6 separate regions of the Homo sapiens genome follow, and regions 1, 2, 3, 4 and 5 are each linked to region 6. Evidence: promoter capture Hi-C in 16 types of primary human blood cells and fetal thymus (Javierre and others, 2016). All regions are on one chromosome and are shown on one strand. Each heading gives the region's core, a stretch centred on a gene start or on the middle of the fragment in contact. The rest is flanking DNA. Distances are from core to core; before and after follow the strand shown. Region 1 has its middle 11 kb from the start of TMCC3. Region 2 overlaps MRPL42 (mitochondrial ribosomal protein L42). Region 3 has its middle 39 kb from the start of TMCC3. Region 4 overlaps NDUFA12 (NADH:ubiquinone oxidoreductase subunit A12). Region 5 holds the start of NR2C1 (nuclear receptor subfamily 2 group C member 1). Region 6 holds the start of PLXNC1 (plexin C1).

Region 1 (4,642 bases), core at 379-2,878, 510 kb before region 6:
TTACAGGCGTGAGCCACCACACCCAGCCTATTATTTCTTTAGCATAGCTTCCTAGAAGTAGAATATTTTGGTCAAAGTGTACCAGCAAAAAGACTCTGTGTATTCTACATGGGAGCTACGGCCTTGGGAATGAAAGGAGCTGGAGGTTAGTGTAAAAGGAGGAAGTGTGCCCTTGTCACTTGTGCAAGTTTGCAGACTCTGCAGTGGTAGGAACAGCACAAGCAGAGGCAGAGAGGGAGGGATGGCCGGGGTCCAGAGCTTGTCCACAGGCTCCTACTTTCATCCTAATCCTATTCACAAAATTTGTGATGATGACATACGGCATCAAAATGCATCCTCCACCTTACTAGGACACTTTCCAGGATAACAGCATACATCCTTACTGAAGTCTTACTGGTAAGGAGAAAGAGATACCACGTGAAGACAGACTTTAGGTTTTGTTTTGTTTGTGCAGACATTTATCGAGCTCTTATTTATAAGTGCTTTACATATATTACATCATTTAATCCTCAACAACAGTATGAGGTGGGTACTATTGTTATCCTTAGCTTATGAATGTGAGAACCAAGGCTTTAGAGCTCGTAAGGAGCAGCGCCAAGATGTGAATCCAAGCAGTCTGCCTCCAGTACACCATACCGCCTCCCTGTAACAGCACAAGATCATTTACAATTGAATGTTTATGTGAGTGATTTAAGCAACAGATACTGTCAGAATTCAGAGAAGGGAGAGAGATAACAGTGTGGACTGGAGTGGACAAGGAAGGCTTCAGCAAGCAGCATCCTCTTTTGAAAGGACTGTGACTTGGACTGTTTAAAAACAACATCACATCAGATTTTTCTGGCAGTTTCATTTCCCACTTTCCTTATCCTGCAAAGTGAGTTGATAAAATGCAAAGTGAATTCACGGACGATATGTTCCTGGAGTGTAGCTAGCTCATCCTTCAGATTCAGTATGTGCTTAATGAAAGACAATTCTCCTGGGCTAGCCGTGCATAGAATGGAGTCAGCTAGAGATCCCCAGAGAACTGCTTTCTCTGTGGTTGTGTGAAGTAGGAACCCAAGCATCACAAGTCCAGTTACAGGTTTAACTGAATGGAACATTTCGTGCCTAGTAAAAAGTAAGGCATTTTTATCTATGTTTGTTTTCTAACCCTGTTGTAGACTTCTGGAAAACTGCAGTAGCAAATAGCCAGTAGTCATACACGATAATCAGAGAGTGAAACTCTTTCCAAGTGGTAGAGTCAAGAGGTTAGAAATAGCAAACCACTTATATTATAATCTGTGTGTGCATGATATAAAGTAAAGACTCAAACCAATATAGGAATCATAAAACATGGAGCAAAGCAAAGCACATGAATTTGCAAAATTTCCTTTTCTTTTTTTTTTTTTTGAGATAGAGTCTCGCTCTGTCGCCCAGGCTGGAGTGCAGTGGCATGATCTCGGCCCACTGCAACCTCTGCCTCCAGGGTTCAAGCAATTCTCATGCCTGAGCTACCCAAATAGCTGGGATTACAGGTGTGCATCACTACACTCAGCTAATTTTTATATTTTTTGTAGATACAGGGTTTTGCCATGTTGGCCAGGCTGGTCTCAAACTCCTGGCCCCATGTAATCCACATGCCACAGCCCTCCAAAGTGCTGGGACTACAGGTGTGTGCCACCATGCCTGGCTAATTTTTGTGTTTTTGTAGAGACAGGGTTTCACCATGTTGGCTGGGCTGATCTCAAACTCCTGACCTCAAGTGATCCGCCCGCCTCCACCTCTCAAAGGAATTTGCAAAATTCTCTACTCAAACTTGCTATGTAACCTTTTACTAAACAACTCATATAATGAATTGTTTTGAACCTGAACCAAATCTATGAACGTTAATATGTTCTTCCAACCAAATCAGGACTTAATTATCCATTATTTATTCCATAAAAACCTTGTAGAATCACTGCTTTGTGCCAGGTGCTTTGCTCCACACTGATGGGCCAAGGATAATGGACATTGCCGTTGGCCCTGAACTTGTGTGGTTGAGACACAGCATGCACTGTGGCCAGGTACTGACATGTGTGGTCATATTAATGAGCACCACCTACAGTCTTTGTTTGCCCTCAGTTTCCACAGCTGGTCAACTCCTCTGGTGCAGCAAAGGGCCATAACCTGGTAGAATATTCTGTGAACAACTTCTTCAGAGAAAAAGTTCACTCCTGCTTGTGTTGTTCCCCTCCTCCCAAAACCCAGTTTTTTCTGTGAAAATGACTACAGTTGCATCTAAATTTAATTTAATTTTTTTTTTTGATGCAGAGTCTCTGTCACCTAGACTGGTGTGCAGTGGCACGATCTCAGCTCACTGCTACCTCCACCTCGTGGGTTCAAGCAGGTCTCCTTCCTCAGACTCCTGAGTAGCTGGGATTACAGGCACCCACCACCACGCCTGGCTAGTTTTTGTCTTTTTAGTAGAGACAAAGTTTTGCCATGTTGGCCAGGCTGTTCTCGAACTCCTGGCCTCAACTGATCTGCCCATCTTGGCTTCCCAAAGTGGTGGGATTACAGGCGTGCGCCACCATGCCTGGCCTTAAAACACATTTTTAAGTAAACTTTTAATTTTGAGATTGTTGTAGATTCACATGCACTTGTAAGGAATACTTCTGAGGAACTCTGTACACTTTACCTGTCCCCCAGTGGTAGTATCTGTGTCTCCCATGGTAGTATCTTGTCAAACTTCAGTACAAATATCACATTAACATTGGTGCAATCCATCAATCTCATTCAGATTTCCCCAGTACTTGTTTGCGTGTGTGCATGTGTGTATTTAGTCCTGTGCAATTCTATCCACCACCACTCTCAAGATACAGAACAGTTCCATCCCCACAGGATCCTTGGTGCTGCCTTTTTATAAACACACCCACCTCCCTCCTGCAACTACCCCCTCCCGTTCCTAGAGCCTGGTACCCACTCATCTCTTCTCCTTTTCTATAGTTTTATCATTTCAAGAATGCTATGTAAGTGGGGCCGGGTGCGGTGGCTCATGCCTGTAATCCCAGCACTTTGGGAGGCCGAGGTGGGCAGATCACTTGAGGTCAGGAGTTTGAGACTAGCCTGGCCAACATGGTGAAACCCTGTCTCTACTAAAAATACAACAATTAGCTGGGTGTGATGGCAGGCACCTGCAATCCCAGCTATTTGGGAAGCTGAGGCAGGAGAATTGGGAGGCGGAGGTTGCAGTGAGCTGAGATTGTGCCACTGCACCCCAGCCTGGGAGAAAGAGCGAGACTTCATCTCAAAAAAAAAAAGGATGCATATCAAATAGTTTGTTCCTTTTTATTGTTGAGTCATATTCCATGGTATGGATGTACCACAGTTGTTTAACCATTCACATGTTGAAGGACATGGTGCTGCTACCAGGTTTTGGCAATTACGAATAAAGCTGCTATGAATATTTGTGTATAGGTTTCTGTTTGAACATGTTTTCTTTCTGGGATAAATGCCTGAGAGTGCAGTTGCTGGGTCAGATGGGAGATTTGCATGTTTTAGTTTTATAAAAAACTGTCAAACTGCTTTCCAGAGAGGCTGAACCATTTTACATTCCTACCAGCAATGTATGATTTATGTAGTTTCTCCACATCCTTGCCAGCAATATGTGTTATAACTCGTTTTTATTGTAGCCATTCTGATAAGTGAGCAGTAACATCTCATTGTGGTTTTAATTTGCATTTCCCTAATAGCTAATGACATTTAACATCTTTTCATGTGTTTATTTGCCATTAGTATATTCTCTTCAGTGAAATGTCTGTTCCTATGTTTTGCTCATTTTTAAATTGGATTTATTTTTATTTTTATTGTTATTTGAGATGGAGTCTTGCTCTGTCTCCCAGGCTGGAGTACAGTGCCGCCATCTCGGCTCACTGCAATCTCCGCCTCCCGGGTTCAAGTGATTCTCCTGCCTAGGCCTCGCAAGCAGCTGAGATTACAGGCACCCGCCACCACGCCCCACTAATTTTTTTTGTATTTTTAGTAGAGACGGGGCTTCACCATATGGGCCAGGCTGATTTTGAACTCCTGATCTCAAGTGATCTGCCACCTTGGCCTCCCAAAGTGCTAGGATTGCACATATGAGCCACTGCGCCGGGCCAAGGATTGTTTATTTTTTACTATAGAGTTTTGAGAATTCTTTATACATTCTAGGTACTCATCACTTGTTATATGTTTGGTTTTGTAAATATTTTCTTCCCATCTGTATCTTGTCTTTTTATCCTCTTATCAGAGTTTTTTGAGAAGCAAAAGCGTTTACTTTTGATGAAGTAAAATACATTTTTGTACTTCTTTATGTAGCCTCAAGTCTGCAGGCAAGGCACATGTTGAAGACCATCTCCCAGGACACTTGAAGGCAGCCTGGAGAATTTTCTCATTGCTCTTGAGAAATCAATAGCATGGAATTGTTGCATTTGCTAAAAAAAGGAATATTCAAAGGCAAGTTCCCTAGCCTGCAGAGTTTCAATTGAGTCTGTCTACTTTCCTGTTTTTAATCAAAATCTTGCCAAGTGGAAGTTTCGGGCTTCTGTGCCAGATAATTGCTAATACTAAATAAGTAGCAGTGATTGTTTATTTGCAGTCACATAGAACATGGTATGTTAGAAATTAAATGTAGATGTTAAGA
Region 2 (4,168 bases), core at 660-3,159, 660 kb after region 6:
AACCCTATCTCTCCAAAAAATACAAACAACAACAAAAAAATCAGCCAGGTATGGTAGTATGCTTCTGTAGTCCCAGCTACTTAGGAGGCTGAGTCTTTAGTCTTCCTTAGTTGACATGAAAAAAAATCAAGTCATAAAGTATTCCTTCTAATATAATCTTCCTAGAACACATCATTTGAGCAATATTATTATTGTAGGACTTTTTTCTTAGGTCAGCTAAAGACACACAACCACAAAAAATTAGGCTCACAGACAATTTGAAGGGTGAGGAAGGACAGGGTTTATTGGGTGAAAAGGAAAAAACTCAGCAAAGCAAGAGAGGTTCCTGTTAACAGGCCCACATCTCACAGATTGAATCCCCAGGTTACCACACCAGATCACAGAGGCCAGGCTCCTTTTCCCTGCAAACAGCGTGAACTTCACGAAGCTCCACCCCATTTTCCCAGTGCACAAGCTGGTCGGAGTTTCTCTGGGGACCCCTGTATCACTATATCTCTAGAGTTCCTGATGGTGTGTCTGTTACTTTTCTCATTAATTCGACCTTAGTAACGGTTGAAATTCTTTTTACATATCTAAAGTTAATATACTATCTTGATTTATCTTGGTGCTTCCCTTTCATCTCCCTTGTCTCTAGATTTTGGAGTGCCCCAAGAATCAGTCCTTGGACTGCTCCACTTTTCTGTTCCATTCTCTAGGACAGGAATCTCGTCCAGTCCCATGGCATTAAATACCATCTGTGTGATGATGACTTCCAAATCCATCTGTGGTCAAGACCTGTCCCTTGACCTCTAGACTTACATATCCAACTGCCTACTTGACATGTGTAGTAGGTATCCTTAACTTGGTATGTGTCTAACTGTGCTTCTGATGGTCCTCCACAAACCAGCTTCTCCTGCAGCCTGCTCTCTCAGTTAATGCCAGTTCTATTCTTCTAGGTGCTTGGGCCAAAAACCTTGGTACCACTCTTGACTCCTCTCTCTGTCTCATACCCAACATCTGGTCTATTAGCGAATCTTGTTAGCTCTATCTCCAAAATGTATCTAGATTTGACCATTTGTCACCATTCCCTCTGCCGCTATCCTAGTCCAAATCATCATTCTTGCCTGTTTTGTTGAAATAACTTCCTAACTGGTCTCCCAGCTGCTTCCTTTGCTTTGCTGCAGTCTGTTTGTAGCGTAGCAGCCAGAGTAACCTACTGTTAACACTTCCCTTGGTTCTTGTAATTTTTCTGTTGAAAATCCTCAAACAGCTTCCTATCTCACTCAGAAACACTCTAGGCCTACAACTACCTACATGATTTGGTCCTGCATTACCTCTCTGCTCTCATGCCCTACTGTCTTTTCCTTGTTCATGTATTCTGGCTACATGGCCTCTTTTTTGCTTTTGAACATGTCCTTCCTTCCATCTCAGGGCTTTTATACTTGCTGTTTGTCTGCATAGAACACTCTTTCTCACAGTATCAGTAAAGCTAGCTCTCTTACTTCCTTCAGGTTTTTACTCAATGAAGGCTTCCCTGACCAGCTTATTCATCTTATTTTCCTATCTCCTGTATTGGAATGTAAGATCCATGAAAGTCGGGATTTTTATCTTGTTTTGTGTACTACAGAATCATTAGGATCTACACATAGTAGGTGCTCACACATTTTAAAATGGATAAATGATTCTGATTCTCATAATAACTTTTTTTTTTTTTTTTTTTTTTTTTGAGACAGGGTCTTGCCCTGTCACCCAAACTGGAATGCAGTGACCTGATCTCGGCTCACTACAACCTTCGCCTCCCAGGTTCAAGAGATTCTCCTGCCTCAGCCTCCTGAGTAGCTGGGACTACAGATGCATACCACCATGCCTGGCTACTTTTTAAATTTTTTGTAGAGATGTGGTTTCACCATGTTGCCCAGGCTGGTCTCGAACTCCTGGGCTCAACTGATCTGCCCACCTTGGCCTACCAGAGTGCTGGAATTACAGGGATGAGCCACTGTGCCCAGCCCCCACGATTTTTAAAAATTAGCTGGGCATGGTGGTGCATGCCTGTAGTCCTACCTACTCAGAAGACTGAGATGGGAGGATCACTTGAGCCCAGGAGCTTGAGGGTGCAGTGAGCTATGATTGTGTCATTACACTCCATCCTGGGTGTTAGAGCAAGACCGTGACTCTAAGAAAGAAAGGAGGAGAGAAAAAGAGAGGGGGTCGGGGGAGGGAGGCAGGCAGGCAGGCAGGCAGGAGAAAATAATTCTAAATTTCTGAAATATAGGGCAATCTTACAAATGCATGAATAATAGTACCACTTTATTTAAGAAACTACTTTAATATTTTCCCATGGAGACAACAAAAATTAGCTACTTCCATCAGTAGGAAACAGATTTGATTACCTAGCTTAGTATGAACCAGGAGGTAAAGTTTTCTGGGTTAAGAGCTGTAGACCAGTGTTCCAGATGTCACTGAGTCATTGTGTAATCTAAGAAGTGTAACAATATAACTTGGTTTGCCAGGAGCAATCTCAATTTAACTCTTGTATTAATTAATAGTGTCTGCAAGGTTCCCAATCTGGATGATAGAATAAGGTCATCGTAAAATTAAGGTGCTTGCTTTTGGCTAGTGATTGTAGTGCACATTAAAATTCATGCATGATAAGATATGTGTAAATGCTATTTGACATTTATTGAGCATATTTTAGAACTTGACTTTGTTCAGTTTAGGGCTATCAGAGTCTCAAACATTTTCAGTCTTGAGTAGTAAATATAATTGAACAGTGTATGCTGAATGACACTTTTAATGGACAGTTCTTAGCATTCTGAAGGTCTCATACTTCATTGAGAGTCTGATAAAAGTTTTGAATCCACTGCCCAGAAAAACACCTATTCAAAATTTTTACAAATAATTTCAAGAGGTTAATGACTTCCCAAACCCCTTCTAGAACCAGAATCTGTAAGGAACTTAAATCAACAAGCAAAAATAAGTAATTCCATTAAAAAGTGGGCTAGGGAACATGAACAGACACTTCTCAAAAGAAGACATACAAGCAGCCAACAAACATATGAAAAAATGCTCAACATCACTAATCATCAGAGAAATGCAAATTTAAAAAAATCACAGTGTGATACCAGCTGATACTAGTTAGAATGGCTATTATTAAAAATAGATAAAAATAATAAATGTTGGCAAGGCTGCAAAGAAAAGCAAATGCTTACATACTATTGGTGGGAATGTAAATTAGTTCAGCCACTGTGGAAAGCAATTTGGAGATTTCTCAAAGAACTAAAAACAGAACTCCCATTCGACCCACCAATCCCATTACTAGGTAAATACCCAAAGGAATAGAAACTGTTCCACCAAAAAGACACATGTAATTGTATGTTCACTGTAGCACTACTCACAACAGCAAAGACATGGAATCAATCCAGGTGCCTGTCAATGGTGAACTGGATAAAGAAAATGTGGTACACATACACCATGGAATACTATACAGACATAAAAAAAGAACAAAATCATGTCCTTTGCAGCAGCACAGATGCAGCTGGAAGCCATTATCCTAAGCGAATTAACACAGAAACAGAAAACCAAATACCACACGTTCTCACGTGTAAGTGGGAGCCAAACACTGGGTACACACGGACACAAAGATGGAAACAAAAAACACTGGGGACAACAGACAGGAGGGAAAGAGGTGAGAGAAAGCTGAAGAACTACCTATTGGGCACTACCTCACTGCCTGGGTGATGGGTTCAATCATACTCCAAACCTCAGCATCACACAATATACCCTTGTGTACCCTCTGAAGCTAAAAATTGAAATAAAACAACAAAAAAAAAATCCTTATCTTAGGGTCTCCTAGGAAACCACATCTAAGACAGCATCTATTAAAATACATACATACATATATACATAGTGAAAGGCAAGCTTAGATAAAAAAATTTACAAAGCATATAGCTCATATAGCACTTTGGTCTCTAAGTTTTATACCTTAATAAGACAACCAATTTGCTTTTTAAAAAATAGGCAAAATATTTCTACAGATACTTAACTGAAAACAAACAAAAACCAAAACCCAAACATATGAATGGCCAATAAGCACATGAAAAGATGTTCAACATCTAGGTAGGTTAACCTCTACCTCTATGAATAGTCCTACCTCATATTATACCCAATTCCCTATGGAGAACACAGAAAT
Region 3 (4,713 bases), core at 2,023-4,522, 540 kb before region 6:
TGTGTATGAGATTTTGTGCTGTCATTTCTAAAAGCTTTTTAATTCAGGTTAGCCAAAAATCTCTGGAAGAGGGTAATTTTTTCACTGGAAAATTCGAGTGTCATATTATTTTCAAGGTTACCTTGTATTGAGCTGGGTTTTTTGTTTTTTTTTTTAATGTCTCAGAGCTTCAGTTTCTAAATCTGTAACATGGAAATAATAATGGTACAACATCTTAGTGGTAGTAGAAGAATTACATAGTGTCTGGCATGCAGCAAGTGCTCAATTATTGTAACTCTGTATGTTTGCATAATAACTCCAGGTGTATAGCATTATATACACAAGTTATCTTGGTTTCTCACCTCCTATTTACACCATATTTGGCACATACTAGGCATCAATTATTTTTTTGCCTAAAGTCCCCTATTTTGTGGGATCGAAAAATCAAATCAATTGAACTCATAGACATAGAGAGTAACAGGATGGTTACCAGAGGCTGGGAAGGGTAGTGAGGGTTGGCGGGGAGGTTGGGATTGTTAATGGATACAAAAAAAAATAGAAGGAATGAGACCTACTATTTGATAGCACAATAGGGTGACTATAGTCGATAATAATTTAATTGTATATTTTTAAAATAACTTAAAGAATGTGATTGGATTGTTTGTAACTTAAAGGATAAATGCTTGAGGGGATGGATGCTCCATTCTCCATGATGTGTTTATTTCACATTGCATGCCTGTATCAAAGCATCTCATGTACCCCATAAATATATACACCTACTATGTACCCAGAAAAAAAACATTTAAAATAAAAAAAAATAATAAATTTTAAAAAATGAAGTTCCTTGCTTTGGTTTGTCTTATATGGAAAAAAAATGGTGTCTAGTATTTTTTTTCTCTAGACCACACCAACCTGGTGTTTCAGTAGAATTACAAATATTTTCCAGTAAAATTAAACATGACAATAGCAATTTAATCCCTTTCAAAACTCTCCATTTTATTCAAGAGGATTCTCGTGGTACCCTGTCTTTCTACCTCATTTGTTCATTTATTCATTCCACAAATATTTACAGAATACCAGTCCTGAGCTGTGCACACAGGTAGGTGCTGGGGACATTGTGAACAAGACAAGAAGAGTCCCCTGCCCTCACTCACGCTGGGGTTGCCCCGATGGCATCACTTTTTTTGCTGCTCCACCAAACAGTTCCCAACCCTAGTTTCCCCATTGCTTATGAGCTAGTCCTGGAGGCCAGCCACTTACTTCCATGAGCACACCTGTTCCCTGAGCAGTGGGCCTCCTGGCCTTCCAAGCATTGAGGCCCTCCGCCTCCAGACCCTTGGTGGACTTACAGAAAGGTTGGTGGTTGCACAGCCAGTGCAGAACTGGAACCCTCTCTCCATGAACTGCATTAAAACAAACTGATTATTGCACAAAATCTTGGCAGAAGGATTTGAAAAATGTCCCATGAACAAATACCAAGTCATCTGAGGCTTGTCCACATGATTTACCAGCATTTTTTCACACGACAAAGATGTGAAGGAAAACTGGGGAAATGTGTCAGCCACTATTGGCATGAACCAGAGATATTTACAGGGGAGGGTGAGGGACTATAGTCCAGAGTCTCCTCAGATTCTTAAAACAGCAAGGATTATGCAAAGATAAAAAGCAAAAGTAAACACTAAAACTGTGAATGAAGCAAGAACACAAAGAGGGGAAATCCTTCTATGGAAACAAGCTTTCCTTCAGAGGAGAAAAACAAGACTCTGCTAAAAAAAATCTGTCAGCCTGGAGTAATAGATGGAGGCTGGTGTCTGCACCGTGCCTCCCTAGTCCACGTTTCTCTGCTAAAACACGATGTTTTTAAATGGAAATGAACGTTTGGCAGCTCGAGGATTGACGTAGCTGACGCCGGCTCCATTGTGGAGTGGGAACACAAACAACAAACGTGAAGATGGTTTTGGGAGTGGGTGAGGCAGAGGGCAAGGGGATGCAGGAAAGTGATAAAAAAGCAAGTGAATTCTATGAAGTCTGGTGTGAGGGCAGAAGCAGCTTGATTTGGGAACTGATTCCTCTTGTGTTACCCATCCGTTCATCAAACTAGTATTTCTTGAGCATCTGCTATGTGTCTTACGTGGTGCGGGGCTGTGGGGATGCAGTGGAGGCTGTAGCGGGGGAAGGAACTAACATCCCTTGAGGCCCCACCGTTTGCCAGACAGTGCTCCAGGCTTGCATTGAAATCCTCTGCAACCCTGAGAACTGCGTCCCAGCGCTCCGAGGTGGTGGAAGCTGGACTTAGAGCGAGGTCTTTCTGACTCTAGAGCTCACTGCCTCCTTATTGTTTTGAAATCTTAATCCTGTGGTGATTTGCTTTTATGTTTACTTTTAACCAAGGCTAAAACATTTATTCCTGGTGTGGAATGCCGCTTCTCCTTTCATCTTTGGAATCTGCTTTGGGCCACAGTGTCTTTCTGATCCAGAGAACCATATTCTCAGGCGATAGGACTGATTCTCCCTTCTCTTTCTAGCTCCTATTTTTTTTCCCCTAAGCCTCTGTATGAGTTTCACGTTCAAGCTCTGAATCATCCTTTCTGTTGCCAAATACTCATGCTGAAACCCCCTGCAAGATCTTCTCTGCTCTCTCTCCAAGATAGACACAAATGCTTCCTCTCTCCATACCAAACTTAGTAGAAACCAAAATGAAAGCGAGGAAAGAGACTCAGTGCATTGCTGAAGGCACTCCAGGTCCTTCGCTTTTCTCGTTCTACAGTCAGATTTTATTTGAAAGACAAAAAGACATGTACACAGTAGACCATGGTAAGACGAGGTCCATGGGTTTGATTCAGAGAACTCTAAGCAGAGGCTGCAGAAGAATCATAAATGAGCATGACTGTGCAAACTTTAAGATGACCTACATTATGTCTGTGTCTTTTATTGAGCACCTCCTATGTACCAGGCACTGCAGTGCTAGCTAGAGAATATGTTTGGCAGCAAACACAACAGACAAAAATTTTTTTTTGCTGTCATGGGGCTTATATTCAAATGGGGGGAACAGTCAATAAACCTAACAAGTAAGGTTGGTATGGTAGGTTAGAAAGCGTGAAGTGCTAAGAAGAAAAATAAAGCAGGGAAGAGAGATGGGTAATATGAGGGAGTGTGGTGGTTATTTTGTGTAGGGAGGCCAAAGAAAGCCTCTCTGAAAAGATGGCATTTGAGTGAAGATGTGAAGTGAGGGAATGAACATTCAGATACTCAGAGAGCCTTTCAGGAAACAGCAGATACGAAGGCCTTGAGCAAGGAGGAGGCCCGGTGTGTGTTCTAGGAACAGGGAACACAGGTGGTGGAGTAGTAAGTAGATGGGCTCTGACTATATAGGGTCTTGTAGGATTTTGACTTTTCTCTAAGTGAGACGAGAGCCATTAGGGGGTTTCAAACAGGAATGACCAGATTTGACTTAGTTTTGACAGAGGTTAACGGGGTCAAGAGAGGGATATTTAAGGGTAGGGGAATACCAGCGTGTTTGTATGCTATTGGAAGTGATGCATGGAGAGAGAAATATGACAATGCAGGAAAGAGGGCAGAATTGCTGGTGCAGGGCTCCTAAGTAGGGAAGGGGGCTCGGACTGCGAAAGATGAGGAAAGGGGTTGGCCTCAGGGTCACAGACAGTTCATCCATGGCAGCAGGAGGGAGGCAGAGTATATATGGGCACAGGAGCAGGTGGGAATAGATGTGGTAGAGGGAATGTGTGGAAATTCTCTCCTGATTGCTTCAATTACTTTTCAGAGAAGTAGAAAACAAGATCATGAGCCAAGAGTGAAGATGGAGGAGGAGGAGAGGTGTCGGAAGTTTGAGGAAAGAGGAGTATGAATTAACCATCTAGCAGCGCGGCAGAGTAAATCGACCAGGGAATGTGGTAGGATTGCCAATTGGCAGTCCTAGTTTCTGGTCGTGAATTTAAAATGCCTGTAATCCCAGCAACTGGGAGGCTAGAGGAGGAGGATCGTTTGAGCCCAGGAGTTTGAAACCAGCCTGGGCAACATACCAAGACTCTGACTCTAAAAAAAGTTTTAAAAACAAATCATGATGGGATTGATCTTGTTGGTTTTGAAGGCTGAGAATGTATGTGTGTTGGAAGGGAGTGGGGAAGGGAAGGATAGTGTTGTGGTGATGAGTTGGGGGTGGCAGTTCTTGCCAGGATCTCTTAGAACTTTGTCACTTCCCAGTTACAAGTATATACAAGGAATACTTAGAAGAAAAGTAACACAAAAAAGGCACCAAAGTTCTCAGAGTAGTTCTATCAAGACGGTGGGATTAGGGACAGTGTTTCATCTCCTTTTCACTGTTTTCCCTTGAACTCCATCCAAGATCCTCACCAATGAACTCAGTTTAAAAATTCTACCGCCTCTTGCTTGTAATTTATTTATTTATTTTGTATTTAGAGACGTAATCTTGCTATGTTGCCCAGGTTGGCCTGCAGTACTCTTTTACAAGGTTCAAATTACTTTGTCTAGGATTTACTAAGGAAAAAACACACGTTAAAAACAACGATGACCACAAATAATATCCCTGCTGACGATGTTTCCCTGGGTGTTCTTAATGTGTTTTCACAGGATATCCCAGATAAAGCAAATGCCTTTCTGTCCTTGAATATGGTTAAGTACAATGCATCCTGCCACAGACTGTATTATATTTTTTTGGCCAGATCCAACCTCTCAGGTTCTTCCAGGAAATGTGTT
Region 4 (4,391 bases), core at 994-3,493, 840 kb before region 6:
TTTGTACTTTTACTACAGACAGGTTTCACCATGTTGGCCAGGTTGGTCTTGAACTCCTGGCCCCGAGTGATCCACCCACTTTGGCCTCGCAAAGTGTAGGGATTACAGGCATGAGCCACTGCACCGGGTCAGTTCTTTTTTTTTTCAATTAATTTTTAAAAATATTTGACATTTTAAATACAGCATTATCTAGCAGAACTTTTCACAATGACGGAAGTGTTCTTTATCTGCCCTGTCCAATAGGGTAACCACTTGCCACGTGTGGCCCAGAACATTTTATTATTATTAATATTATTATTATTTTGAGACGGGGACACTCTGTTGCCCAGGCTGGAGAGCAATGGCACAATCAGTCTCGACTTCCTGGGCTCAAGTGATCCTCCTGCCTCAGCCCCCTGAGTAGCTGGGACTACAGGCATGTGGCACCATGCCCAGCTAATTTTTTTGTATTTTTAGTACAGATGAGGTTTCGCCATGTTGCCCAGGCTGGTCTCAAACTCCTGGACTCAAATGATTCGCCAACCTCTGCCTCCCAAAATACTGGGATTAGAGGCATGAGCCACCACACCTGGCCTTTCTAGAGCACTTTAAAATGTGGATAATGCAACTGAGGACATTTTAAAATTTTTATTTAAGATAAGTAGGCTACTCGATTGGACAGAATAGTTTGTTTGTTTTTCAAATACTGTGAGCTAAGCAAAACATATTTGTACTGTACATTTTTGCTGAGCTATAACCAGATTTCAACCCCTGTTCTACTACTTGGACTAATTGTGAGCACTGACTGTGTCAGTGATGTAATTTGAAGAATATGATAATGGATAATATCTTTAAAAGCTCACTGGGGCTTGGTGTGGTGGCTCATACCTGTAGTCCCAGCACTTTGGAAGGCTGAGGCATGAGGCTCGCTTGAGGCCAGAAGTTTGAGACCAGCCTGGGCAACATAACAAGGCCTCATCTCTATAAATAAAAAAAGTTTTAGAAAATTAGCCAGGCATGGTTGTACATGCCTGTAGTTCCAGCTACTTGGGAGGCTGAGGTGGGAGGATCCCTTCAGCCCAGGGGTTTGAGGTTGCAAGGAGGTATGATTGCACCACTGTACTCCAGCGTGGGTGACAGAGTGAAACCCTGTCTCTGAATAAAAAAAGCTCTTTGGTTCTTACCGTGAGAAAGCAGCACTGATTAGGAGCTTTCTCATGCTACATCATTTGGGGATTGCTGTTGCACTCTTTTTAGTGGGAAATAACAACCTGTGGTTCCGTTAAGGTCTGAGGAGCTGTGGGGTTTTTTTGTTTTTTTTTTTTCCACATTCTATGTCTCTTTATTTTTTTCCTTCAACTTTTATTCTAAGCTCCAGGGTACATGTGCAGGATGTGCAGGTTGACATAGGTAAACATGTGCCATGATGGTTTGCTGCACAGATCATCCTATCACCTAGGTATTAAGCCCAGCATGCATTGAGCTTTGGTTTTAGGTTTAGAACCATCAACCTTCTCCAAAGGGGCATTCTATATGTTAGGAGGACTATTTGAGACCAAGGTGTCAACATGGAATTCAGGCTTTAGGAGCTGAGGTGTCCTGGTTTTTGTTTAACTGAGAGATTGTTTCTTGGGTGGAATTGGTCCTGGGAGGCTATAGAAGGCATGTGAGCTGTCTTATTCAGATTGACATCTACCTGCTTCAAAATGTTCATCTAACATTGGTGCTCAGGGGCCACATTTTGGGAGATGAGGGGTAGGGGTGTGATTTCAATTATGTGCGATTAATTATGTTTAAAATTATAAAATAGTAAAAACCTGAAAAGCTAAAAGTTCTATTCAGTGGAGCAAGTCCTTTTATTTGATCTGAGACCACATGAAAATGAAGCTAAGAGCTGTAGAAGATCACTCCAGCAGGTGCCTAAGGGCAAGTGAGGATTCAAAGCTGCATTTCTTTGTGGAGAGGAGCCTCCTAAGGTCTGAGTACCTTTGATGACCCTTATTTGTATGGGAAGCTTCACGGCTTGTGATGAATCTTTTTAGGGAGAAATGGTGTTGAACAAGCTTAGCTGTTTGTTTCTCAAACCCCTCTTTGTTGACCGTGACACACTGTGGAATTCTAAATCTGTGGATTCTTACCTTTGATTCATGAATAAATTTGATGTTGGGTTGATATATCTCTAATTAGAGAGCTAGGTATTATCACGTGTAGAGAGTAATTGTACAGATACAATTTATCATCCCTATTCAAATAACTATTTAGTACCTACCAGGTGCCAAGAACCTGGGGTAAAGCAGTGAATAAAACAAGGTCCTTGTTTTCATAGGGGAAGGCAGAAAAACATCCTTTATATAATTGTGGTAATGAAAAATGCAAGGAAGATAATATGAAGCTGGGCCTCATGGGAATCAAGAGCAATGGAAGGGTCAGGTGGCTGTTTTATACAGCAGTTAGAGAAAGCTTCTTTGAGAAAGTGACATTTGAGGAAAGACGTAGAAGCGGGGAGAAAGCGTTCCAGGCAGAGGGAACCACAGGTGCAAAGCCTGTATGTTTGAGATGTATTGCTTGGTCTGTTCAAAGAACAGCAGTATGGCCAGTTTGGCTGGAATGGAATGAGTGAGGGGAAGATGTTAAGAAACGAGGTAGGAGAAATAGCTAGGGCCCAAATCATGTAGATGTTGTAAGATGAAAGGTTCTTGTATCGGCTCGAACCCTGAGAGTGCATCAGCAGACAACATGGCAGTGTGGAGCAACACACTGTTTTAATGAGCGCCTGGGTGCAGGTGGGCTGATGCCTAAAATGGCGTTAGCACCAAATGAGGATGGGGCAGGGGTTTTATAGTCTCCTGTAAACAGGAAGTGTCTCAGTCTGATGTAACTGCTACATAGTACCTGGACGGCCTGCCCCTCAATCTTCAAGGGGGTATGTGTCTTTCGGCCAGCTCTCTTCCTGCTTCTGCTGTCTTGCTGACCCACGCTGCTGGCCCAAGCTTGGGACTGGGCCTGAGAAGGGAGGAGTTATTCATCTCTTCAAGCTTTCAGGCCTCAGGGAGAATCTTTCAGTAAGCCATGGTACATACTTCGGCTTTTTGTCTGAATTTATTTGGAAGTCACTGGAAGGTAAGATAGGGTGTGATCTGATTTACAGTTTTTTAACATTTGGAATAATCCCGAACTTTCAGAATCATTACTAATATTTTAATAAAAGTAAGTTGCCAAATTGATGCCCCATCACTCCTGAATACTTTAGTGTGTACGTCTTGCAAACAAGAACATTGTCCTACATAACCACAATATGACCATAAATATCAGGAAAGTAACAAAGATACACTATGAAAGGGAGGCAAAATTTTACCCTTATCCTCTTAGGGCTTTTTGGTTGGGCTTGAGAATTAAAGACATGTTAACAGGAGAAAAGCATACAAATTTATTTAATATAAGAGTTCCGTGATGTGGAGCCCTCATAAGGGATGAAGACCCAAAGATGCAGTTCATGTTGAACACTTAGATACTGAATTGGACAAGGAGTAGAACACTGAAAATGAGAAGACAAAGGGACTTGGGCTTGAGTAGGTTAATTGGGTGGAGAAGTGACTAAGAAGATAAAAGTTAATTTAACAACGTTTGTGCAGATTTCCCTTGACCTCAATTTCCTGTCCTTGATGTAGAATGATAGTTTCCTTCTGGTATAGGGAGGATATCTTTGATGTGGGAATTTTTTCTCCTGCTTTCAGAAAGAAAAAGGCCATATTATTCTTGTGCCTGCTGTTTTTCTTTACCTTTTTTTTTTTTTTTTTTTTTTTTTGAGACAATGTCCTGCCCTGTCACCCAGGCTGGAGTGCAGTGGTACAGTCTGCAGCCTCGACCTCCTGGGCTCAAATGATCCTCCTATCTCAGCCTCCCAAGTAGGTGGGATTACAGGCATGTGCCACTACACCTGGCGAATTTTTGTATTTTAAGTAGAGACGGGGTTTCATCATGTTGGCCAGGCTGGTCTTGAACTCCTGGCCTCAAGTGATCTGCCTACCTTGGCCTCCCAAAGTGCTGAGATTACAGGCATGAGCCACCACACCCAGCCGTGCCTGCTGTTGTTCAAGTGCCTTTAACTCAGCATAGTCCATATGCCAGAGCTGCATATTTTGGAGCAGCGTGTTCTGAACTTCAGCCACTCAGGTTTCGTCAGTTGTCCCAACAGTGTCCTTTATAGAGAGATCCAATCACACATTTCATATGGATCTCAAGTTCTTTAGTCTCCTTCACACTTGATTGGTTCCTCAACTTTTCTGTGATTTTCATGACCTTGACGCTTTTGAAAATTACTTGACAGTTATATTGTTGAAGGTCCCTCAGTGAGTTTGTTGAATGTTTCCTCATGACTAGGTTCAGGCTATGCTTCTGTGACATTCCTGTCA
Region 5 (4,362 bases), core at 1,021-3,520, 930 kb before region 6:
GTCTCAGATTGCCTGTATCCATTAGGCCTATAGTGCAGTCATGCACTGCATAACAATATTTCAGTCAAGGACAGACCACATATACAATAATGGTTGCATAAGATTATAATCCCCTATTTTTACTGCACTTTTTTTTTAAAAGGACTTAGTTTACTTTTTCTATGTTTATATATATTTAGATACACAAATACCTACCATTATGTTACAACTGCCTACAGTATTCAGTAACATGCTGTACGGGTTTGTCCTAGGTTTGTGACTTAAGAGCAACAGACTACAACATACAGCCTAGGTGTGTCTAGGCTAGACCATCTAGGTTTGTATAAGTACGCTCTATGATGAGAGTAAAATGAAATTGCCTAAGGACTCATTTCTCAGAACATATCCCTGACGTGACTATACTTTCATAATTTTCACCTTTGGGACCAGCTTATGGTATTGGCAGGGGTCTCCCTTAAAACCAAACCAAATACACAACAAATAATGCTAAAAGGTAGAGGTTGGAAAAAAAAAAAAGTTTCACTCTCGCCCAGGCTGGAATGCAATGGTGCCAACACTGGACCAGACTCCTGGGCTTAAGCAATCCTCCCACCTCAGCCTCCTCAGTAACTAGGAATACAGGCCTGCACCACCATGCCTTTTTTTTTTCTTTTTTTTTTAAGAGATGGAGTCTCACTATGTTGCCCAGGCTGGTCTCAAACTCCTGGCATCAAGCAAGCCTCCTACCTCAGCCTCCCAAGGCTCTGGGGGCAGAAGCCACTGTGCTCAGCAGAGGTGGATTTTTAATGAGGGATAAAGCATATTTTTACTTGTTAGGGATTGTTTCATGCCTTGATCTCTGTCCGTCTGCCTAGTTCCAGAGAGAAATAACAGAGATGTTCTCATTCCCAGCAAACGTTTGTTTTTCCTTCCTTGGATTTCTGCCCTGAGTTTGTGGCTGCTTTCCTACAGTGCCGACCTAAGCTAGATAAAATAGAAATTTCATGACAAAACAAAGGAGATTTAAAAAAAAACTAGAAATTTCAAGAATGCTTCAAAATCTAAAGCGCAGAGTACTTTGCACACAGGGCAGTTATTCCTGCCACACCTTGCCACTACAGGTGGCCACTGTCAGAATGCGATGTTCCACCAATGTCTCTTCATTTCACAATTTGAAAAATTTTTTTTGTGGAGGCAGGGTTTTGTTATCTTGCCCAAGCCGGTCTCCAACTGCTGGCCCCAAGTGATCTTTCCTTGGCCTCCCAGCAGCCACTTGCCTGGCTTTCATTTCATACATCATTATTGAATAGCAGGCATTGTCCTATGTGCTTGGTAATACATCACTGAGCAAAACAGACAAAAAACGGCCATTGAGGATAATCCTCAATATATAATAATATATATATTATAGAGAGGATGTGGAATATACATATATATGTGTGTGTGTATATATAGAGAGAGAGAGAAAGACTCATTGTGTCACCCAGGCTGGAGTGCGGTGGTGTGATCTTGGCTCACTGCCGTCTTGACTCAGGTGATCCTCCCACCTCAGCCTCCAAGTAATTGGGACGACAGGCACGCGCCACCAGGACTGGCTAATTTTTTTGTAGAGACGGGTTTTCGCCATGTTGGCCAGGCTGGCCTCAAACAACCGGGCTCAAGTGATCCGTCCGCCTCGGCCTCCCAACTTGCTGGGATTACAGGCGTGAGCTACCGTGCCCAGTCTCTAGTGATTATATTCTTGCCCTGTTTAGCCATTATGTCTCTTTACTCACAACAGTTTATAAGTGAAACTTTGCCTTACCATTTGCATGAGTCGGCCTCAGCTTGTCATTATATATAAAGCTTACTAATGTAAATGACGAGTTAATGGGTGCAGCACACCAACATGGCACATGTATACATATGTAACGAACCTGCACGTTGTGTACATGTACTCTAGAACTTAAAGTGTAATACAAAAAAAAAAAAGTTTAAATATGATTGGACTCTACCCCAGAGCCCAGTTTTCCAGAAATTAGAAACAGATATGCCTAAGACCCAGAGGGTTATTTATTACTCAAATCTAAAACGTTGACTCAAAACCTCCCCTAATGCCCACCTTTGGCAAACGATGCTTAAACCTTTGCACGTGGCTTCAAAAATTACCTGGCTGGGAACGCGTAGCTCTGGCGGGGCACTCTGCCTCCAAGCCAAAAGGGGGCAGTGGACTCACAGAGCCGCTGCTCGGCCCTCCGATCCCTCCACCCCACCCTGGGAACGTCACGACCTCCTCTCGCCGCTTCTCCCCGTTGCTAATGCGCAGGCGCTGGCGGGATAGCGCGCCGCCGAGCCGAGAAAGAGGTCACGAACTCTGACCCCCCAGAAATACCCAAACACAGAAAGCTCTCTCCGCCGTGAATCTCGATCCCACATCCCGTCGGCTTTCTTCAACCTCTCTTCCCGGAGCGCCCCCCAATCCACGAGTGGCAGCCGCGGGACTGTCGCGTCGGCGCCCGACGCCGGAGTCAGCAGGGCGCAAAAGCGCCGGTAAGAAACGCTGGGTGGGGACACCAGCGACCGCGTCGGGGGCGGGGGCCAGGGGGTGCCCTTCACCCCAACCGCCAACGGACGCGGTCCCAGCGCATCCCCCGGCCGGCGTCCTGCGGCCAGCGGAGCCGTTCAGTTTGGGAGCGCCGCTTGGGGCTGCTCGACTTCGGCTGGGAGCGCGGAGCTGCGGCGCCAAATGCGCGGGGCCCCGGGAGAGGCGGGGGCGACAGGGGCGGCGGGACGCGGGGCCGGACGGCGAGCGGCTTGGAGCACACAACCCCCTTTCCAGCTGCGCTTACCGCAGCGCCTCTGACCTTTAACCTGCAGGGAAAGCTTCCGCGGCGCTGCAGCTTTCCCCGCCCGGGAGAGCCGCGCGCAGCGCCGGGGCTTCCAGGGCGCACGGCTAACGCCGGCACGAGTGAGACGTGGGAGAGGCCGACCCTCGGCTAGTGGCCGCAAGTCCCGGCCTGCATCCCGTCACTAACTCCCGTGCTTTCACGGGACGGACAGAATGACTCCCCCCACTTTCACTTTTCTCTCACGGCAAATCTGGCCAGGGTCGTCGCTGCCTGTGGGCCTGGATCTTTTCAGAAGAAATGGAACGGCCCCAGGGTTCTCACTGCAGGGGGCATGTCCAAGCTTCCGATAGATAGCTCTTTTGTTAAGAAATAATTCTTCCAACTCGGGCAGATACCATTTTTGTGCAGTACGAATGTTGCCAGGTTGTCCCATAATCTTCAGTAAGTAGGTCAGCCTTTAAAAAAGTAACCGGAAAGCAAAAGCAGAAAGACCTAAAATTACGGCCTTTAGGGTTTAGTACCGCTAGAATTTGTAAATGGACCTTCGATTTTGAGCTTTTTTGAACCATTTCTGCTGTGTGGTTGGTGATACTCGATTTTTTTTTCTTTTTTTTTTTTTTTTTTTGAGAGGGAGAGGGAGTCTCACTGTCGCCAAGCTGGAGTGCGGTGGCGCGATCTCGGCTCACTGCAACCTCCGCCTCCAGGTTCAAGCGATTCTCCTGTCTCAGCCTCCCGAGTAGCTGGGATTACAGACACGAGCCACCACACCCAGCTAGTTTTTTTGTTTTTGTTTTTGTTTTTGTTTTTTGTATTTTTAGTAGAGGTGGGGTTTCACTATGTTGGCCAGGATGGTCTTGATACTCTGACCTCGTGATGTACCCGCCTCTGATCCACCCGCCTCGGCCTCCCAAAGTACTGGGATTACAGGCGTGAGCCACCGCGCCCGGCCGATGATTGTTTTTAAACTTTGCTTTAAGTCCAGTTAGTATATCTGAAAAAGCGATGTGTATTTCTATCATTAAAAGTGGGTCGCGGCTGGGCGCGGTGGCTCACACCTGTAATCCCAGCACTTTGGGAGGCTGAGGTGGGCGGATCATCTGAAGTCGGGAGTTCGAGACCAGCCTGACCAACATGGAGAAACCCCGTTTCTACTAAAAATACAAAATTAGTCGGGCGTGGTGGCGCACACCTGTAATCCCAGCAACTCCGGAGGCCGAGGCAGGAGAATTGCTTGAACCCGGGAGGCGGAGGTTGCAGTGAGCTGAGATCGCGCCATTGCACTCCAGCCTGGGCAAGAAGAGCGAAACTCCGTCTCAAAAAAAAAAAAAAAAGTGGGTTTTATGAAATGTTGCTAATCTTAGTTTTTCAAGGGGCATGTTAGTTTCTTCTAGGAAAGGTTTTTTTGTTTTGTTTTATAGAAATGGTGGGGGGCCTCATTTTGTTATCCAGACAGATCTCTGGCCTCAAGCTATCCTCCTGCCTCAGCCTGTTGAGTAGCTGGAATTACAGGCACCGCATCTTAAGGAAGGATTTTGAGGGAGCAAACATCCCCAAA
Region 6 (4,207 bases), core at 256-2,755:
GCTCCCCGGCAGCAGCGCTCTCCGCGGCGCCCCGGGGGCAGGACTTACGCAGTGGCTCTCGGCCGTCTTGAAGTCCCAGCTGACCCTCTTGGCGCGCGCCTGGATCTCACTCATTCTGAAGAGGCAGAGCGCCGTGGTGGTGGGGGAGCGCCGCTCCTGGCCCTCTCCAGCGGCCGCGCTGAACACTCCCGCCCAGACGTCCAGGGCCTCCACTAGGCTGGAGGAGAGGAGCAGGCGGCGGCCGTCGGGGTGGCCGTGGCCGCAGTCGAGGGATGCCTGGCCCTGGAACAGCACCTCGGTGCTCTGCGCGATGCGCGCCATGCTGGGCCAGCCGGTGGCAGCGCCGCTCGTGTAGTTGTAGGGGTAGTAGGGGAAGTAGATGCTGCCGTTCCAGAGAAAGGCGTCCACGAAGTGCAGGCTGCCCGCGCCCTCGCACAGCTTGAGGCGCCCCAGCTCCTGCGTGGCCAGGCTGCGCCCCTCCGTGTCCTTGAGCGCGATGGCCGTGTCGTGGTCGGATGCCGCGGGGTTGCAGCGGCTCGCCGTCTCCGGCTCAGGCAGCACGTAGGTGGCGGCCACCGCCAGGTACCAGCGGTTGTTCCGGCCCGCGCGGTACACCACGCCGGCCGTCGAGCCCTGCGGGTGGCACGACACCACCTCGGTGCCGTTGCGCAGGGAGTTGCGGCTCAGGTTGCCCAGGGGCCGCACCTCGCAGGCGCCCCGGTCGAAGGTCCAGCCGGTGAGCAGCAGCCCCCCGAGGCCGGCCGCCCCCTCGCGGTAGGGCAGCAGCAGCTTGCTGAAGCTGCTCCCGGGCCGGGGCCGCGCGGGGGGCGCCAGCGAGACCGGCTCTGTGCAGTTGCCCGCTTGGTCCCGGTACAGGCGCGAGAGGCTGTGCTCCAGGCTGTAGTCCAGCTGGTCCAGGCAGCTGCCGCTCGCCACAAACACGCCGTCCTCCTGGCTCGCCGCGATGGCTCCGATGGCTTGCTCCGACCGCCACACGGGCTCGTCCGCGCCCCGGCCGGGAGCCGCCAGTGCCAGCAGATAGGCGAGCAGGGGCAGTGGCGCTGCGGGGCGCGGGGGGCGCGGCGGCGCCTTCCTCCGGGAGACCTCCATGGGGCTGGGGGGGCCGCCCCCGGGCAGGGCGCGCGGCGGCGACGGCGGCTCAGGCGCGCGGCAACGGAGACGCGGGCGGCGGCGGCGGCGGTTCCTGCGCGCGCTCGGGCTCCCGCGGCCGCCCCATCCCCGCAGCTCGCCCAGGAAGGAGAGCGGGGAGGGCGGCGCGCGGCAGGCTCGCTCCGGCAGCCTGTGCAGCGGCGGTGGCGGCAGCAAGCCCTGCGCGCTCCGGCACCGTTTCCTCCTCGCCCTCCTTCGCCGGAGAGTTCCTGTGTGCAGCGCTGGCGCTCGCGGGGAGGCGCGGAGGGGAAGGGAGGGGACGGGCGGAGAGGAGCGAGGCGGGCGGGGAGGGCTGGAGAGGTTGGGTGCGCTTGTGCGTTTCACTTTCCCATTGTGAAAGTGGGATGCAACTGGCCCCCTTCCTCATCCTCTCTTCCTCCTCCGCCCTCCGCCTCCTGCCCGCCCGCCCGCCCTCCCTCCACGCCCATCTCCCCTCCCCTCTTGATTCGGTGAGATAGGGAGGAGGGAGGTCTCGTAATTTGGGTTACTGTGTAGGTGGCCTCTTTCATCTATTCATAACAAAGCTCAGCCGCCCGCCGCGGCCGCCGCGGCCGCCACCATCGCCCCCTTGGCTCGCCTGGGGCTCCCGGGGCGCGCTAACGGCGCACGGAGCGGGCTCCCGCGCCCGTCCGCCCGCGGTGCTGCTCCAACGCCCGGTTTTGTTTACGACAGCAGCCGGGTCGGGGATACGCCAGGCGCGCGGAGCGAGGATCCAGGGTGCGAAGGGGTTGCAGCTGAGGCCCCGGGCTCGGGCCACAGGGCTGCTGCGAGAGCGGCTGACAGGTGTGGAGCGGCGAGAGGGAGGCCCCGGGGAGGCGCGCGGGAGACATGGCCGAGCCGGAGACTCCGGGGACCAAGGCGCCCCTGTGACAGGGTGTGGGTTTCCCCGGGTCGGATGAGTGAGGTGGCAGAAAGGCAGGCGCCACACTCTCGTTCTGGACAATCCCCAGGGCCGGAGCGCCCATATTTGCAAAGGTTCTCTAATCTCCCTTGGCAACAGAGTCCCAGGCTCTCAAGCCTAGCACTTGGAAAGTTCTGCTCACCATCTAACCTAATGAGCGGGGCTAACATTTACTGAGCACTTACTACGTGCCGGGTGCGCTTGTGAACTCACCACATGGGTTAAGACTCATAATTCTCATAACAGCCCTATTAATTAGTGACTGTTATTGTCATCCCTACTTAGTAGTCCAGGAGAATGGTTATAGAAAGGTTGTGGAACGTGCTGGCATTCTACTGCTGGTAGATATCAGAGCCGAGATTCGAATCCATATCTAGCCCCAGGGCCTCTTACATACCTGGCTCTAGTTAAGTGCCACCTGTGGCCATTGCCATAATCCCCCAGAGATCATTCTCTGTAGTGAGACTGAAAAGTTCCTCAAGTTAAATGCACCAACCAGCCCCCGCCCTGCTTTCTACTATTAGACCCAAGTCCCCGTATTTCCCTCGAGGCTCTCCATCTGTCTCATCATTACCCACTTTTATCCTTTGGACCCCCTGAGGTCTCACCACCTCACCCAGAGGGTGAATAACAGCTGGGTTGCCCCCACAGCCGCCAAGAATTTCTGAAGCACAGGGAATCATTGCCCACTGGGGAATAGGTTCATGATTTCTCGGAATGGGGCTTCCCAGAGGATGCACAAATGCCTCCCAGCTTCCCGGGGCAGCTGCGGGCACCATCAGCACCCTTACAGTCTGGCAGATGAGCCAGGGGGTGCATAGGAGTGGAGGGTGCTGAGGACCTCTATGGATCGTTGGGAAATGATCTCTGTTCCTTCCCAGGCTATTTCCAGACCCCAGGCCCCAGGGAGGGCAATTGGCTGCTATCCCCTTTCTTCCTTCCCTCCAAGTTCCCCAGCTCGAGATGCTGTTTTGGGAAGGGAAAGGAATGAGGTGGCTTTTGTCCCATGCTGAGTCCTGCCGAAGGTTGCAGGTTTCAAACTTCTCCAACAGTGCTTCAAGTTCTCCCCAGTGCTGAGGGATATGGCAGGAGTTCTGGAAGGCTTAAGGAAAGAAGGGTGAGGTGGAGGGAGAAGAAGAGAAGTGTGAGTTTCTGCTCTAGATGTGAAGTTCAAGGATCCTATCATTTCAGCAGTGGCTCTCATACACTAAAGTCAGAGTGGTCATCTTTTCATTCATAAGCCTTTCATTTGCAATTGGATAACATTATCTTTGCCTGGCAGGAGGCAGAAAATGCCTTCCCACGAGATATGAGGTTGCCCTTTGTGCTGTGATGATGGTGTTGGAGTGTCCATAAGGAGAGGGGAGGAAGAAGGGGAAAGGCCTAAAGTACCCAGTTGGTGTTAATCGGGACATCTCAGGCAAGACAAGTCAGATGTTTCACCTGCTCCAAAATATCTGGCCTTGCTCCCCCACTCCCTGCCCTCCTGGAATGCTTTCAGAATTTTTGCACCTCTGGAAGTGGGAAGATCAATATTTTAAAAACCTCATCCGAAGCTCAGAGACCCCCTCCACAGCATAGTAGGGGATTTATGCGCTGGTGTTTTGACAGTTTTCCCTGTGACTGATGCAGAACTCAGTGACCTTCACTGGCTCCGTGAACCAGCGGTGGCAGTGTCGCTATGTGCTGAGAAGCAACAGTTCAATTCCATTCCAGAGATAGTTTTACTTCACTGGTAACCAAGTCATTTCTCTAAGTCCCGTAGAGTTGGTACAATCAGTCACAGACCATCTTGGGAGCTATTTGGATTAAACATACTCTGTGGTGCGGCATTTTGATCACTACTCAGTTCATTGCTGCTTCATTTTGAAAAAGAAACAACATCTTAAAAATACTACCCACAAGAAGTATAAATGGCTTTGATGGCTACAGTTCCCTGCCATTCTACTGGGACCATAAGCCCCACTCTTAAGAGTGGGCTTCTTTTGCCTCCCATTTAATTGTATGCAGACTCCTACGGTGAAAGAAATCAGAATCTGTGCTAACTTTTTGGCATGAAAAACGTAGGCGACGAGGAAGCATATAAATGCATTCTTTGCTGATTCTACCCCCATTTTGTACAAACATGTTTGCCCC

What was found. Contacts are between HindIII fragments. The CHiCAGO score rates a contact against its expected background, and 5 or more counts as called.
Region 1: a contact is called between a fragment that was not itself captured here and the fragment with the promoter of PLXNC1 in region 6, in 1 of 17 cell types (neutrophils). The highest score is 5.2, in neutrophils.
Region 2: a contact is called between a fragment that was not itself captured here and the fragment with the promoter of PLXNC1 in region 6, in 1 of 17 cell types (M2 macrophages). The highest score is 5.2, in M2 macrophages.
Region 3: a contact is called between a fragment that was not itself captured here and the fragment with the promoter of PLXNC1 in region 6, in 1 of 17 cell types (neutrophils). The highest score is 5.5, in neutrophils.
Region 4: a fragment that was not itself captured here is called in contact with the fragment with the promoter of PLXNC1 in region 6 in 1 of 17 cell types (naive CD4 T cells); the score reaches 7.4 in naive CD4 T cells.
Region 5: the fragment with the promoter of NR2C1 here is called in contact with the fragment with the promoter of PLXNC1 in region 6 in 4 of 17 cell types (naive CD4 T cells, total CD4 T cells, total CD8 T cells and 1 more); the score reaches 9.3 in naive CD4 T cells.

The regions. Positions count from the first base shown.
Region 1 is chr12:94,659,446-94,664,087 of GRCh38, reverse strand. No RefSeq gene overlaps it. Among named protein-coding and RNA genes, the nearest start is that of TMCC3, 11 kb to the right of the region's middle. The HindIII fragment of the contact is 6,489 bases long and covers 1-4,642 here.
Region 2 is chr12:93,491,263-93,495,430 of GRCh38, reverse strand. All of the region lies in intron 5 of MRPL42 (mitochondrial ribosomal protein L42), which reads right to left. Among named protein-coding and RNA genes, the nearest start is that of MRPL42, 26 kb to the right of the region's middle. The HindIII fragment of the contact is 3,980 bases long and covers 1-3,899 here.
Region 3 is chr12:94,687,325-94,692,037 of GRCh38, reverse strand. No RefSeq gene overlaps it. Among named protein-coding and RNA genes, the nearest start is that of TMCC3, 39 kb to the right of the region's middle. RefSeq lists an enhancer at 2,706-2,945. The HindIII fragment of the contact is 3,111 bases long and covers 1,717-4,713 here.
Region 4 is chr12:94,987,185-94,991,575 of GRCh38, reverse strand. All of the region lies in intron 3 of NDUFA12 (NADH:ubiquinone oxidoreductase subunit A12), which reads left to right. Among named protein-coding and RNA genes, the nearest start is that of NDUFA12, 14 kb to the left of the region's middle. RefSeq lists an enhancer at 1,704-2,215. The HindIII fragment of the contact is 397 bases long and covers 2,045-2,441 here.
Region 5 is chr12:95,071,526-95,075,887 of GRCh38, reverse strand. NR2C1 (nuclear receptor subfamily 2 group C member 1) reads left to right here and starts at 2,270. Exons shown (of 14, transcript NM_003297.4): 1 at 2,270-2,508. RefSeq lists enhancers at 2,173-2,492, 2,183-2,683 and a silencer at 2,573-2,852. The HindIII fragment of the contact is 1,017 bases long and covers 1,827-2,843 here.
Region 6 is chr12:94,145,875-94,150,081 of GRCh38, reverse strand. It overlaps PLXNC1 (plexin C1), which reads right to left and starts at 1,505. Exons shown (of 31, transcript NM_005761.3): 1 at 49-1,505. The coding sequence starts at 1,110. RefSeq lists silencers at 1-18, 679-918, 1,049-1,278, 1,349-1,598, 1,609-1,738 and an enhancer at 379-478. The HindIII fragment of the contact is 5,941 bases long and covers 1-4,207 here.